Regions from separate parts of the Homo sapiens genome. Here regions 1, 2, 4 and 5 are each linked to region 3. Evidence: promoter capture Hi-C in 16 types of primary human blood cells and fetal thymus (Javierre and others, 2016). All regions are on one chromosome and are shown on one strand. Each heading gives the region's core, a stretch centred on a gene start or on the middle of the fragment in contact. The rest is flanking DNA. Distances are from core to core; before and after follow the strand shown. Region 1 holds the start of DCAF11 (DDB1 and CUL4 associated factor 11). Region 2 holds the start of PSME2 (proteasome activator subunit 2). Region 3 holds the start of PIP4P1 (phosphatidylinositol-4,5-bisphosphate 4-phosphatase 1). Region 4 holds the start of CHMP4A (charged multivesicular body protein 4A). Region 5 holds the start of ZFHX2 (zinc finger homeobox 2).

Evidence for each region. The method cuts DNA at HindIII sites, captures the fragments that hold promoters and counts their contacts. A CHiCAGO score of 5 or more calls a contact.
Region 1: a contact is called between the fragment with the promoter of DCAF11 here and the fragment with the promoter of PIP4P1 in region 3, in 6 of 17 cell types (naive CD8 T cells, non-activated CD4 T cells, activated CD4 T cells and 3 more). The highest score is 13.2, in naive CD8 T cells.
Region 2: a contact is called between the fragment with the promoter of PSME2 here and the fragment with the promoter of PIP4P1 in region 3, in 1 of 17 cell types (naive CD8 T cells). The highest score is 6.2, in naive CD8 T cells.
Region 4: the fragment with the promoter of CHMP4A here is called in contact with the fragment with the promoter of PIP4P1 in region 3 in 5 of 17 cell types (fetal thymus, non-activated CD4 T cells, total CD4 T cells and 2 more); the score reaches 8.7 in fetal thymus.
Region 5: a contact is called between the fragment with the promoter of ZFHX2 here and the fragment with the promoter of PIP4P1 in region 3, in 1 of 17 cell types (non-activated CD4 T cells). The highest score is 5.4, in non-activated CD4 T cells.

Annotation. Positions count from the first base shown.
Region 1 is chr14:24,113,375-24,116,074 of GRCh38, forward strand. DCAF11 (DDB1 and CUL4 associated factor 11) reads left to right here and starts at 1,403. Exons shown (of 15, transcript NM_025230.5): 1 at 1,403-1,919; 2 at 2,008-2,375. The coding sequence starts at 2,221. NRL (neural retina leucine zipper) reads right to left here and starts at 1,575. Exons shown (of 3, transcript NM_001354768.3): 1 at 1,348-1,575. RefSeq lists enhancers at 656-1,371, 953-1,092, 1,333-1,482. The HindIII fragment of the contact is 1,852 bases long and covers 811-2,662 here.
Region 2 is chr14:24,145,161-24,147,860 of GRCh38, forward strand. PSME2 (proteasome activator subunit 2) reads right to left here and starts at 1,450. Exons shown (of 11, transcript NM_002818.3): 1 at 1,374-1,450; 2 at 1,048-1,080; 3 at 550-612; 4 at 219-305; 5 at 83-113. The coding sequence starts at 1,421. RNF31 (ring finger protein 31) reads left to right here and starts at 2,338. Exons shown (of 21, transcript NM_017999.5): 1 at 2,338-2,700. The coding sequence starts at 2,539. RefSeq lists silencers at 1,496-1,555, 2,256-2,345, 2,376-2,605 and enhancers at 1,866-1,935, 2,073-2,573, 2,120-2,414. The HindIII fragment of the contact is 5,988 bases long and covers 1,131-2,700 here.
Region 3 is chr14:20,460,099-20,462,798 of GRCh38, forward strand. It overlaps PIP4P1 (phosphatidylinositol-4,5-bisphosphate 4-phosphatase 1), which reads right to left and starts at 1,336. Exons shown (of 7, transcript NM_144568.4): 1 at 1,086-1,336; 2 at 557-747; 3 at 94-200. The coding sequence starts at 1,227. RefSeq lists enhancers at 656-1,622, 1,551-1,620, 1,623-2,588, 1,921-2,000 and silencers at 791-960, 1,021-1,430. The HindIII fragment of the contact is 6,669 bases long and covers 1-1,902 here.
Region 4 is chr14:24,212,209-24,214,973 of GRCh38, forward strand. It overlaps CHMP4A (charged multivesicular body protein 4A), which reads right to left and starts at 1,280. Exons shown (of 6, transcript NM_014169.5): 1 at 1,201-1,280. The coding sequence starts at 1,231. It overlaps NEDD8-MDP1 (NEDD8-MDP1 readthrough), which reads right to left. Exons shown (of 7, transcript NM_001199823.3): 5 at 2,284-2,391; 6 at 2,102-2,187; 7 at 1,735-1,943. The coding sequence ends at 1,816. It overlaps MDP1 (magnesium dependent phosphatase 1), which reads right to left. Exons shown (of 6, transcript NM_138476.4): 4 at 2,284-2,391; 5 at 2,102-2,187; 6 at 1,735-1,943. The coding sequence ends at 1,816. RefSeq lists enhancers at 689-808, 763-1,571, 999-1,498, 1,135-1,429, 2,584-2,765. The HindIII fragment of the contact is 5,751 bases long and covers 1-1,972 here.
Region 5 is chr14:23,550,365-23,553,064 of GRCh38, forward strand. It overlaps ZFHX2 (zinc finger homeobox 2), which reads right to left and starts at 1,401. Exons shown (of 10, transcript NM_033400.3): 1 at 979-1,401. It also overlaps a transcript of THTPA not described here. RefSeq lists enhancers at 193-855, 1,705-1,754 and a silencer at 1,335-1,574. The HindIII fragment of the contact is 16,619 bases long and covers 1-2,700 here.

The sequences.
Region 1 (2,700 bases), core at 153-2,652, 3.7 Mb after region 3:
TAATAAAAAAAAAAAATGATTCCGTCACATTCTGGGAGAACGCAGGTAAAATCAATCAATAAATAAAGATCCCGATTTTCCAGGCTGGATAACCCAGAAACCACGGAATCCTAAAGTCTCAATAAACGTTAAAGCACAGATAGTAAGTAATCTGGCAATAGAGGATGGGCGCCCAGCAGACCGCCTACATAATCAGTGGAGCCGAGTGCAAGATGAAAATACCAGGCACTTGCTTTAAAATTACTAATAATTTCAAGACCGTTAACACTAGAACATTAAACCAAACATTCAGGACCCTTCTAAGCGCAGAGGCCATCAAAGCTAGCCCTGGTGACAAGCTCAGGTCTCCGGATCTAGAGACTAGGAGACGTCGCCCGAAAGCTGGCCAAACCCTCGCCCTCACTGGGAGAGGCCCCAGGAGGGCCCAAGAAGGCCACGAGCCCTCGCTCCCATCCCTGCCCTCAGGAGCGGGCGGAGGGAAGCTCGCAGCTTTCCCAAGGAAGTGCAGGCTGCAGGGAATGAAGTTCAGCTCGGACCCTGAGCCTCTGAGCCCGAGACAGCAAGGTCATTCAACCCACACGTCCCCACCCAGCCAGGGCGAGGATCAGAGATGTGGCAACTCCCGGCCTTGGACTCAGGCTTGTTACTCATAAACCCGCAGGAGGGGGCAGGAGGGGGCAGGAGGCGGCGAGCGCGCACCCTGGACCCGCGGCCGGGGGCGGAGAGGCACCGCGAGGACAGAGGGACTAGCGAAGGTCTGCAAATCCCGGAGGGCCAAGGGAGCGTCAAAGGGGACAGCGGAACCGGAAAAGCTTTGACAGAAAGACGCGTGTATTAGGGAACGTCTGCAAAGACCGCGGCGGAAAGCCAGGGATTGTCTTAAAAAATTGTCAGACCGGATAAAGGGAGGTCTAAAAGGGGACCGTCCCAAGAGCAAGGCTTCCAAAAGCTAAGCCCGGAAGGACGGTATGGAGGTCTACTGGGACGCTGGGCACCCCTTAGGGCAGAACCGACTGGAGCTGCGGCCAGCGACAGAAGAACGGCTCCAGCTGGACAGGGGAAGCAGTGGGGAGAAAGGAGGCCCTTGGGCACTGTCTGAAAAGTGCGATGCCAAATGATCTTTAGGGACAGACAGTAAATTATATCCCTTGCTAAAATACCTCTCGGTAGCGAACCACCAAACGTTTCTTTTTTAAGCCCCGCCTCTCAGCCGTTACGCCTAGTTCGGCTGTCTCTGATTCAGGAAGCTGGCAGTTCCCACTTACTCCTCCCCAGCAAGAGCTAACAGCCCTCCTTGGGTGTGCACTTTCTCCTCCCCTCAGGCACCTCGCGCATTCTCCCGCCTACCTATCAATCATCGTGCTCCGCTGTCCAGTTGGCTGGCCAAGGGGGCGGGGCCGTCGTGTGACGTTTGCAGCCCGCCGGCCAGGAAGCCGCGAGATGCGTGACGAGCGAAGCGCGTGACGGAGGAGCGGTTGGCCAACGCAGTGGCGGCAGTCGGTGTAAACAAGGCCTCGCGCCGCTGCGGGTCCTGCGACCGCTCCTGGCTGGTGGGTGGTCTCGCGTGGGGCGGTTACCGCCGGCTTCAGTGGGAGGTGCTTCTCGGCTTCCTCCCCCTCATGGCGTACACACCCCCGGCGCACCACGTGGGCGTGAGGCGAGGAAGGAGGGGTGTTAGGCCAAATTCTATTTTCATTGGCTGTCACTGCTGCCGGCCTTTGTAAGGGGGCGCTCTGATTGGTCGATAAGGTGGGGGCGTCGAGGGTCTTTGAGTCCTAAGGCTTCTAATTGGTTAGATGAGATAAGCTAGTGAAGCGCTTTCTTCCGAGAGGGATTTCGATTGGTCGGTCAGAGAGGTTACCTGGAAATCCAACACCGCCCAACACCCCTCCCGCTCCCCAGTCCGGGGACTTCGATAGGTGAGTTTGGTGTAGAAAACAAATCTTTCTTCAGTTGGTGAGCTAGGGTAGCGCACTACGGTTCACTCTTGCTTTCTTTGCTTCACAGGATTGGAGAAGGTTTGTGTTCCCGACGCCTTGGTAGTTGGCATAGGCTAAAGAAAAGGGATCTCAGCCCCGAGGAAGGGTCACCCTCCTAGAGATAGCTACTACCCCGTCTCAGGAGACCCTGGTATTTCTAGAGCACGCTTTGCTTTCACCAAACCCAAGGAGGTGACAGGAGGAGCCCCCGCACAGGACCTAAGAATGCTGTGACCAGAAGATGGGATCGCGGAACAGCAGCAGTGCAGGATCCGGGTCCGGAGACCCCTCCGAGGGCTTGCCCCGAAGAGGGGCTGGCCTGCGTCGGAGTGAGGAAGAGGAAGAAGAGGATGAAGATGTGGATCTGGCCCAGGTACTGGCCTATCTCCTCCGCAGGTAACTTACCCTCTGGTGTGACCCCCAGCAGGTGCTACCACAGTGCCTTGATCCCAACTCCAGGCAGGAAAATTACAGAGGTTAGGAAATGGGATTCGCTCAGGACAGCTGTTCTGTTTGAGCTGAACAGCCTTTCCCTGCTGGGCACCCATGGCACTCAGCTCCATACCCAGTAAGAGTGGTTCTTACCTAGGGAGGGTCACCAAGAGGACCTGCTCATGTGTTTGAGGGGCTATTCAAGGGAGCCTGTCTCTGTGACTACACAAATATAGTCTATTTTCCAAGTAAGCTTGAAAAAAAAAAGGGGGGGGTCCTAGTGGGAAAG
Region 2 (2,700 bases), core at 200-2,699, 3.7 Mb after region 3:
AGAAAGAGGGGATTCAGGCCCTTTCTCATCCAGTAGTCAGTGTGCCATCACCCCTTCCCTAGTCACCTCTTATCTCTCTTACCTTCTTTCTTCTCCTGCTTATCTGTTTCCATCTAAGGCAAAAAGGGGGGAAAGTAGCTTTAGAAAAGTCACAGAGGTTGAAGGGCTATCTTCTCCATTGGGTTTATAGTCCAAGTCCTGCACCCTGAGTGCCTCACCTCATCATCCTTGGGTGGAGGGTCTGGGATGGGGATGTCCAGTGGGGCCCGGAGGGAAGTCAAGTCAGCCACATTGAGGGAGTCCTCCTGCACAGAGCTCACTGTCAAGGGCTGCCCAACCTCTTCCCTTCATCCTAGGTCACAGCCTTCCCTCCATACATCCCACTTGCACTCTGCCTCCCAACCTAGGCTCATGCCTCACGCCATCCTAATGTTCCTAATCCACTATTTGAAACTATTCTCTGCATGCTGAATCCAGTTGTTAGCTAGAGAGGGTGGGCAAAGGGGATAGAGGACATAGGATGGGGCAGAAGGGGCCCACACTACTCACTTGCAAGAGCTGATTCAGGTATATGATTTTCTGTGGCAAGAATCTGTAGAGGAATTCCTCAGCCTGTGGGTTACATTGCAAGGGAGGGGAATCACAGAATATGCTCAATGAGATGTCTGACAAATGGAACTGGAAGGGCCTTTGGAAATCACTGGGTCCAAGACTTGCAAATGAGGAAACTGAAGACCTGAAAATGAAAGGACTTGCCCAAGCTGGTAAATGGCAGAACGAAGGTTAGGACTGTGATATTCCTGCTTTGGAAGCCATGGTTTTTTTCCTCCACATCAAAAGACGGGAGAAGTGCCAGAAGTCGGGAGAGTCATAAGAAAGGTCAGATTAAAGGTAGCTATCAATAATTCCGGGGTTACTTTGGGTGAAGGCTTGGTAAGGGAAGTAGGGTTAAGTCTAGGGTGACTTGGGGGGGTCATTCTGAGAGGCTGTTATCCTCAAGTATTGGTCCAAGATTCTGGGTCAAATCGCTCAAATCCAGAGACTTACCTCCTGGAAAAGATTCTGTCTGAAGACCTCCACCTACACAGAGAGCAGTACCCGGATGTTGGTTAAGGGTCTGGGTTGTCAAAAGCTTCCACCCACAACAGGGTGCCCTCGAACTGTGGCTCAGGCCTTTCTCACCACAAACTAGCTTTCCCTGGAAGCTCCTGCTCACTGCAGTCAGAAGGCAGGAATCTGGGAATCCCCGAGAAGTGAAGGCACTAGCGAGATTGGGGGAGTTCTCTGGCACTGCTTGGTCCCCTGAACCACCCAGCTTGGCCTCCACCCAAGAGGGTTCTATGACCCCTTCCTGGCCTCCGATTCCCCATTACCTGTTTGCGGGCTTCCCCGCTCAGGCGCACCCCACACGGCTTGGCCATGCTGCTTCAGTCGCTAGATCTCTGGTCTCCCGGCTAGTCGCCCGGGCTTTCGCTTTCACTCCCCAGGTCCAGGCCCGCCCCCCTCAACCCCGCCCCCTTTCTTCTTTCCGCCCCCCTCCTCCCGCTGGCAGGCCGCAAGCAGTAGGTAGCCCCTCAGCCATTCCCAGCCAGTTGCCACTAGGAGAGGCGGTGCTGGCTGGGTCACAGTCCAGGGGCTGCCCGAGGGAGGGGCTAGGGTAAGTGGGACCGCGGAGACTGGAGCGGGGGCTGTCCCTCGGAGAGGGGCGGGGCTTATAGCTAGGGCCAACTGGAAGTCCAGGGTTGGGGTAAGAGAGGTGGGAGTATGGCAAAGGGGGTATTCAGTGGCGGGGCTCCCCCAAGAAGGCTCGACCGCAAGTAGCGGACGGAGAGAGATCAGAGCGAGTGGGAGGGGCAGCCAGAGGGAGCGCCTGGGGTGGAGAAGGACTAGCAGCTCTTAGAAGAGAGCGGGCAGGGGTTGGGTGAGGGTCTTCCCTCTGCCTTCAGGACAGACCGGAGATGGGGCGGGACTCGCTCGAGAGGGGTTAGGGCCGGCCAGAGTCGGTTCCCCTGCAGGGTGGGACTTCCTCGGTGAGGCCCGGAGCGTACCGGACTGGTCCAGCTAGAAAAAGAAAGGTTTTGAGCTGAATAGGATAACCCCGCGCCTGCGGCTATCCGGAAGGGGTGGAACCAGATTGGGGGAAGGCGGGGAAGAGCGCTTGACTGAGGGAAGATGCTGGCGCGCTCTGAGGGAGGAGCCAGGAGCCATTTGCCTTCTCATTGGTTGGGACCTGGCCCTCCCTCTTGGCCGCGCCCCCTGGTTTCCTGACACCGCTCCAACCTTAACCTTAAGCCCCGCCCGTTCCTCCGAAATTGGGTCGCAGTCCCACCCTCTCTCCTAGTACTTCCTGTTCTCGGCTAACCCTGGCGCTGGGCCGGGGGCTGGAGAGTGACCGTGGTCTGAGTGACCTGGGGCGGCTGCGTGGGCCGGGGTGGGCCTCAAAGCCGGGCACCAGACGGGAGGGGCGGCGCTCGGGCCGCGCGCTGCCCGCGCCGGGTCCTGGCGGGCGGCGAGGCTGGGGCTGACTCCTGCCTCAGGATGCCGGGGGAGGAAGAGGAGCGGGCCTTCCTGGTGGCCCGCGAGGAGCTGGCGAGCGCCCTGAGGAGGGATTCCGGGCAGGCGTTTTCCCTGGAGCAGCTCCGGCCGCTACTAGCCAGCTCTCTGCCGCTAGCCGCCCGCTACCTGCAGCTGGACGCCGCA
Region 3 (2,700 bases), core at 86-2,585:
AGGCTCTCTCACCTTTACATTCTCTGTATACGCTCATCCTTTTTTGACTTTCCAGTTCCCCACTTAGGCCCTTCCCCACCTTATGCCTCTTACCAGTAGGGCCGAGGGCATGCAATCCGTTGGGATGTCACTTTGCAGATAAGGAGACAGTTACAGGGGCATCGAACATATTTTTTCCCTGGGGGTGCATTCTTGATTGGCTAGAGAATAATAGGGTCATCAGCAAGCAAACCTCTAATCCCAATCCCCTCCACTTCCCTCCAAAAACACTTTATGAGATCAGAAAAATAAGGTGCTAACCAGGAAGGAGAAATAAAAGAAAGACTATATCATGAGATTTGCAAATAGGAACTAGGCTAGGTGTAAAAGTGAGAGAAAGTGAACATTAGCTTTGGTGAGTGGCTTCTGGGGAAATGGCTGTGTGAGACACCTGGAACTGAAACCTGGGTATCATCAAAAGCACTTGGCTAATAGCCGGAAGGTCAGGGTCTAGAACCAAGACATCAGAAAGAGGATCCAGGAAACAGGGCCCATTTCATAGATATGTGTAACTCACGGTGGCTTCATTGCAGACACCACATTTGACTACATGCTGATGCATCTTGCCTTCCACGTTGATGAGAGATTGGCAGACTCGGCAGGTGATCATAGGGGCACTCCCACTGTCCGGGCTAGTTAAGGGTGAATAGGGGGGTGGGTCCTCCCCAGGCAACACGGCTGGATGCCCCTCGGGAAACGGGGGAAATGCTGGAGAGGAAGCAAATAGAAGGGCTGGGATCACTTACACCCCCACTGATGCTCCACGGTGGTAGGGAAGTCCTTCTGATCTTCAACCCTCTGACCAAGCTCGGAGGGCTTCTCATAATTGGCACTTCTATCAGGTTGCTCAGAACCCCCTTCCGTCCCTAGGCTGTGGTCGCGATTACGGAGGGAAGGAAGCCTCGCCCAGTCACAGGTGCAGCAGTCCCGCACCTGGCGACTGGGACCCGCCTCCGCCCTCGGTCCCGCCCCCTCCCCGGCTTTCAGAGTACCCCGGGGAGCACCTCGGACCCGCCCCGGCTTACCCTGGGGCGGGGCATGTTTACCGGCTCCGTACGGTGGTGCGGAGGGGGTCAGGCCTCCCCCGGGCCCAGCCCCACTCCCGCCGGGCCCCACTAAACCGTTGCCGCCCGCGCCACCGTCGATGGGCTCAGACAGCAGCGGGGAACGCTCTCCATCTGCCGCCATGGCCGCCACCGCCGCCTCCCGCTCAGGTCGGCGATCCGGCTCCCTTCGCCTCTGCCGTCGCCGCAGCCACCGCCACCGCCGCCACCGCCACCGCCGCTACCGGGTCCCCAGGGCGCCTGCGCGCCGCGCGCCCAGCTCACTCCGCAACCAGTGGCCTGCCCCGCCCCGTTCCGTCTAGCAGCACGTGATAGGCTATCCCCGCCCGGGTCATGCTATTATTCGCGTAGATAAACCAATTCCTGGTCCTGTGAAGGCAGCTCTCCTTTTCCATTGGGGAGCGACGCACAAACGTCAACTGTCACATGACCTGCCAGATGCTGCTGGGCTTGCAAAACCTGCACGTGACTAGAGGTTCTGCAAGCTATTGGGAGCGACGCCCATCGCGCTACCTCCAGACCAGGAGGTAGGGCTAGGCTGCGTCTGCTCAACTGGTCACGTGTTTCTGGAAGCTGCACGGTCCCTGTTGCTCTGCTCCTCATTGGTTCAAAGACACCACTAAAACACTTTTCTCCGGCTTTGCGTTGTAGCTGGTTTCCTATTGGCTGGTGACTTTACTTCTTTCGTCCTGTGATCCTAGCGGCGCAACTGCATTGGCCCGAACTTAGCGCCAGAACATGGGGGGCGTGGCTTATGCATTTTAAAGGAGGCTGGGCGGGTGCAATAAAGGAGTGCGGAAGCTTGGGATCTTCTGAGCGGGGAGAAAATGGACGGTGGGGAACAGTAGACAAAGTTAGCTGTTCTACTCAAAGAAGTACCTTTAAAAAGTCAGAGTAATGAGGTACCAGAAGGAAATGGATTAAAAAGTTAAGATTATCACTCCAGCCTTTGTCGCTAGAGTCACTTTCAGGACAGGACACAAGACTGGGTTTTCCTGGAAGCTGTCCTTACAGAGCCCCGTCTTTCCCCATTGCTGATCAAATTGTTAAATTATCTTTTCATTAGTGTCTCCACTACTAGAAGATTTCATCGTTTTACTAAAAAAAAAAAAAAAAAAATTCAATAGAGATGGGGTCTTGCCTATGCTGGACTCAAACTCCTGAGTTTGATCTCCTGCCTAAGCCTTCCCAGTAGCTGGGACTACAGGGACAAGCCACCGTGCCTTTACTCAGTTTTATGACCACCAACCTTTAACATACGCACAAGTTTGTAGATTGGATTAATCAAATACAAGGTTATTTTCGTCACCTTATTTGACAGATGGGACAGTCTTTAGGCCTGTCTCAACTTTGCTTCCAGCAAAGGGGCAGTGCCTCCTCCCCTACCTGAAGTCTCGTGTGGTCTTTATGGGCGCCTGAACCACACCTGGATTTTTTCCCAAGTCATAGCCCAAACTGGGACTGCTTTAAATATGGGAAGCAACAAGGAATTGATAAAAACAATAAACCCCGAGGAGGTCCATTATCAGTTTGGCTAGCAGACTCTCCACTAAGAAAGGAAGTGCATCAAAGAAAGTACAGCCAGCCCCAAATATGT
Region 4 (2,765 bases), core at 30-2,529, 3.8 Mb after region 3:
TCAGCCTCCCAAATAGCTGGGATCACAGGCATGTGCCACCATGCCTGGCTAATTTTTTGTGTTTTTAGTACAGACAGGCTTTCTCCATGTTGGTCAGGCTGGTGTCGAACTCCCAACCTCAGGTGATCTGCCCGCCTCGGCCTCCCAAAGTGTTTTGATTACAGGCATGAGCCACCGCGCCAGGACTTCTTTTTTTGAGACAGAGTCTCGCTCTGTTGCCCAGGCCAGAGTGCAGTGGCATGATCTCAGCTCATTGCAACCTCCGTCTCCCGGGTTCAAGTGATTCTCCTGCCTCAGCCTCCCTGAGTAGCTGGGACTACAGGCACACACCATCATGCCCACCTAATTTTTTTTTTTTTTTTTGAGAATGGAGTCTCCCTCTGTCACCAAGGCTGGAGTGCATTGGTGCAATCTTGGCTCACTACAACCTCCGCCTCCTGGGTTCAAGCGATTCACCTGTCTCAGCCTCCCCCAGTAGCTGGGACTACAGGCGCGTGCCACCACAACCAGCTAATTTTTTTTTTTTTTTTGTATTTTTAGTAGAGACAAGGTTTCACCATGTTGTCCAGGCTGGTCTCGAACTCTTGACCTCAGGTGATCCACCCACCTCGGCCTCCCAAAGTGCTGGGATTACAGGCGTGAGCCACCGCGCCCGGCCAATTTTTATATTTTTAGTAGAGACGGGGTTTCACCATATTGGCCAGGCTGATCTCAAACTCCTGACCTCATGATCCACCCACGTCGGCCTCCCAAAGTGTTGCGAGTACAGGCGTGAGCCCCCGCGCCGGGCTAAGAAGGCAGTCTTTCTTCTTCACCTTAGATCCCTCTTGCCCAGCACAAAGTATTATAGAACAAGGTTTTGAAAATGGCTGAAGACAGCAGGAAACTCGTCTTCAAGCCTGAACAGTGGGAGTCAGCACGATCGCCACGCCCTCAACTCAAGTCCCCTCCCAGATCTTGAGTTCTTCCCTCTGAGAGTGGGGGAGGACGGCGGACGGGAACAAGGCGCCCCGACATGGTGTGCCTTTTGGCACCGGCGATGAGCCTTGCTCCGCCATCGGCCGCCGGGGTTTTCCAGTCAGCCTGTCTCCTGATTCTCTTCCCCTGCCCGGCGCAGCGGTCCGGCCGAATCTCGCCGGGGTCTCCTCTTCCCCTGCACCAGCCAGCGCCTCCTGGCTGGCCAGTCCCACCCTGGCTCACCCTTCCCGAAGAGCCTGCCGAGACCACTCATCGCGAGCTCGCCTCTCCCGCCTCCGCCCCTCAGCGTCCTCCAGACTTCCGCCTTGCTCCTGGGAGGGTGATGTCTCATCACACAGGGACCAGCCTTGCCCAATCCGTCCTCAGGGCGCCGCCGCGACATCAAGAGGCGCAAACGAGACCACCGGTGTCACGTGACCCAAGCCACCAGCCCCAGACCGACGCGCTCCTCTTAAAGCTGCCACATCATTTTCTATTAAGTAAAAAGACAGTTCTATCTCCACCTGAGTACGTGCTTGTTCTCCGGAAGGAAATGTGCAGTGTGATGGCACCTCAGTGTATGGGGTCAGTGGGAAAACTTCATGCTCTTTACAGAGCTCAGGAAAGTGGGGTGGTATAGGTTCAAGCACTTGGGGTTGCCCTAAGTTTAGATGGCAAACCTGATGCAGTCTAATGTCTCACATTCTGGTCTCTGCACCTCAGGACAACCAACCCCATTTCACAGGCTAGAAAAATAGAAACTCCCCACACTGTGGGTAAAATCTCTTCTGTCACACACAGATGAACTTTAATAAATTACAAATGCACCTGAAAATGCCTTCTTGATTTCCTTTCAGTTTAGGCCTCAAATGGGCTCTCCTCAAGGCTGGACCTCAAAGGCCCAGTTTGGGCCTTCGCAAATGTCTCTAACCCTTGACTTAGAGTTTGAAGATTCATTCCATTCTGGATGTGAATGCAGGTAACACCTAGAAAGATAAGAAGTCACATTTCATTAAGCTTTCAGGGTTCTCCATTATTACTCTGACCTTTGTGAGTGCCACCTATAGGGCAAACTATCCAACCTGTATGTATCTACCTAATCCCTCCTAGGGACCCCAAATGGCTGTTCCTCATCACTCAGTACCCAGTTTGCTGACGTCTACAATATTCCGCCTCTCATCATCAAAGAAGATCATCTGGGAGAAAGGAATTCCAGTCTTCTGCTGCAACCTATTCAAGACAGGGCAGGAGTAACCAAGCTAGTATCTTGGTTTCCCAGGCCTCTCTGATACTTTCTCACCCTGCTCCTCCCTTATCTCCGCATACCTCTCAAAGTGTGTGATCTTGCTGCCTGGATAGATTTCCCGATGAACAAAGTACCTGAAGAGGTCAAAGAGCTCCAGTAGCTGGTTGGCCCCTTCTATCTCACTTGTCCTGCAAAACGGTGTAAAAGATGGGATTAGCAAAGTGAAGGGCCAGGGCTACGTTAACTTATTAAGCAAAGTTAGTAAGTATAACCAGGGAAATCAACTTGCTGTTTTTCCGGGATGGACAGGCATCCTCAGCCTCTGTTTAACTCCATTGCCTTCCTATTTGACACAATTGGTGCTGGGCCAATGTTTTAGCTTTTGTTTTGAGACAGGGTCTAGCTCTGTTGCCCAGACTGGAGTGCAGCGACCCAATCACGGCTCACTGTGGTCACGACCTCCTGGGCTCAAGTGATCCTCCCACCTCAGCCTCCCAAGTAGCTGGGACTACAGGTGCACGCCACTACAATTTTTTTTTTTTTTTTGGTAGAGATAGGGTCT
Region 5 (2,700 bases), core at 151-2,650, 3.1 Mb after region 3:
GGCCAGAGATATCCAGACAGACTCTGAAGGAGAGGGCATGGAATCCTAGACCGACAGAACAGGCAGCCAAGGCGTGACACATAGTGATAGAGACACACAAGGAGAGGATCACTCAGATGGGAAGGGTCACAAGTGGAGACAGTGACATACAGATCCAGAGATGGATGGGATGGAAGAGACAAGATGAAGAACAGCAAAACCAAAAGTCAGGGACACATGGACAGAGATCAGCGGGGCTACAGGCACAGCGAGGAAGCGTGGTCCTGTGCTTGAAAATGATAGGGCTGCTCAGAGGGGCAGACGAGCGGATGGGGGTGGTAGGATGGGCGTGCAGGACAGACACGCTTCACCTTGAATGGGCTTATGGCCTCCCCTCACCTACTCAACACTTTCAAAAAAAGGAATGGAAAGCCCAACTTCAGCCAAAAACGAACGAAGACTGAGAGTATCCACGTCCCCTCCCACTCCACGCCCCAGCGCGCTAGCCCATCCATCAGCCCGCCGGCCGCGGTTCTCCCATCCCACAGCCGGCGGGGGGCCGCCGAGACCCAGGACCCTCCAGGCTGACAGCTCTGAGCCCTCACACTCACCGGGCCTCCCCTTCCCCCCGGGATCCCCGCTCCCTGCCCAACTCGGCGCGGTCCGTCTAGGCTTTCCATACCCTTCGTCTGTCCGGCGGGCCTCTGCCTTTCCCGTTCCCGTTTCTCCCTCCACCCCCGCATCTCTCTTCCCCCATCCTCGCGCACGCCCTCTTCCTCCCACACCCCTGTCTGCTATCTCCCAGGGCTCTCGGTCTGTCTGTCCGTCCGTCCTTGTCCCCTCCCCCAGCCCCTTCCCGTCCCTCTCCGTCCCCTCCAGCGGCAGTCTCCAAGCGCCTCCTCTCCCGTCTCGAGCTTCCAAAGAGCAAGGAAGGGAAGAAGAGAGAGAGGGAGAGGAGAAAAAAACCAACCCAGCAGCATCGGAAATCGATGCACTTACACCTCAGCTGGAAGCAGGGACGGGAGTCGAACCGCGGCCACCGAGCAGCGCGAGGCGGGGAGGGGAGGGGGCGGCTCTTGGAAGGGACTTCTCCGATGTGTTGATTCCTCTTTTTTCCCCTCCTCCTCCCTCCCTCCAGCGCTCGCTCCGGGGCGTCAGGGACGGAGACGGAAAAAAATAAATAAATAAATTCACGGCGGTGAGGGAAGTGAAGGAAAATAATCAATGCTATTTGGCTGCGGCTGAAGTGTTTCCCCGGCTTCGTGAGGGGGTTTCCATTGATTCACCCTGGGCACTCGCTCGCTCCCTGCCTCCTCCTCCTCCTCCTCCTTCTCCTCCTCGCCCTCCTCCTCCTCCTCCTCCTCGCCCTCACTCCTCCGCCTCATTCACTGGCTGGAGTCTAGGCGTCCCACACAATGGAATAATCAATACCCAGGCGCCCGGGGCTGCCCCACTGAGCAGGTGCAGCGACCCGCCCGCCGCGGCGCATGCCGGGAGTTGTAGTCTGTTCGCGCCCGCCCGCCTGCCTCGCGGGACCCAGGGCCGGGGGCAGGCCGGCCAGCCCACCAGGTCGCCTCCAGGTTCAAGCCGGTGCCTGCAAAGAGGGCAGGCCCCTTTAAACTCTTTTCCGTCTCCTCTCCTCTTCATCCTGTGGCCTGCAGAAACCATACATGTGTTTTGTTGTTTTGTTTTAAATCAGCTTCAGAACAAGCCCTGAGCCGCCCAAGGCCTCCTTTTTTCATTCTCTTCTTCCTGCCTTATTATTCCGCCTCCCCCATCTCCCCCCGCGAAATTGGGTACTAGAACCTTCTCTACCGCAGCAATTACTCTTTAGTCTCTGAGAGCTTCTGCCTCCTCCACACGGTTACATAGTCCCCTGAGCTGGGTTGGGGGAGGTTCGGGCTCCTCCTCATCTTCAGTTTATCGCTTATTAAGTGCTCCTGAATTTTTTTTTTTTTTTTTTTTCTGGAGACGGAGTCTCACTCAGTCGCCCAGGTTGGAGTGCAGTGGTGCGATCTCGGCTCACTGCAACCTCCACCACCGGGTTCAAGCGATTCTCCTACCTCAGCCTCCTAAGTAGCTGGGATTACAGGCATGCATCAACACACCCAGCTAATTTTTGTATTTTTAGTAGAGACGGGGTTTCACCACGTTGGTCAAGCTGGTCTCGAACTCCTGACCTTGTGATCCGCCTGCCTCGGCCTCCCAAAGTGCTGGGATTACAGGTGTGAACCACCACCGCGCCCAGCCCGTTTTTTTGTTTGTTTGTTTTTTTCTTGAGACAGAGTCACTCTGTCGCCCAGGCTGCAGTGCAGTGGCATGATCCCGGCTCACTGCAACCTTCACCTCCCAGGTTCAAGTGATTCTCCTGCCTCAGCCTCCCAAGTAGCTGGGATTGTAGGTGCCCACCACCATGCCCTGCTAATTTTGTATTTTTAGTAGAGACGGGGGTTTCACCATCTTAGCCAGGCTGGTCTCGAACTCCTGACCTCAGGTGATCCACCGGCCTCAGCCTCCCAAAGTCCTGGGATTATAGGGGTGATCCACCTCACCCGGCCGCTCCTGTATTCTAATAATAATTTTTAAGATTTCTTGAATGCACAGGGACAGTTCCAAGCACTTTTACATACATTGTTTACTCCTCTCAATACCTCAAGCATGAGGTAGATGCTATTATAGTCTCATTTATTGAGGAAACTAAGGCACAAACAAGTGAATTAA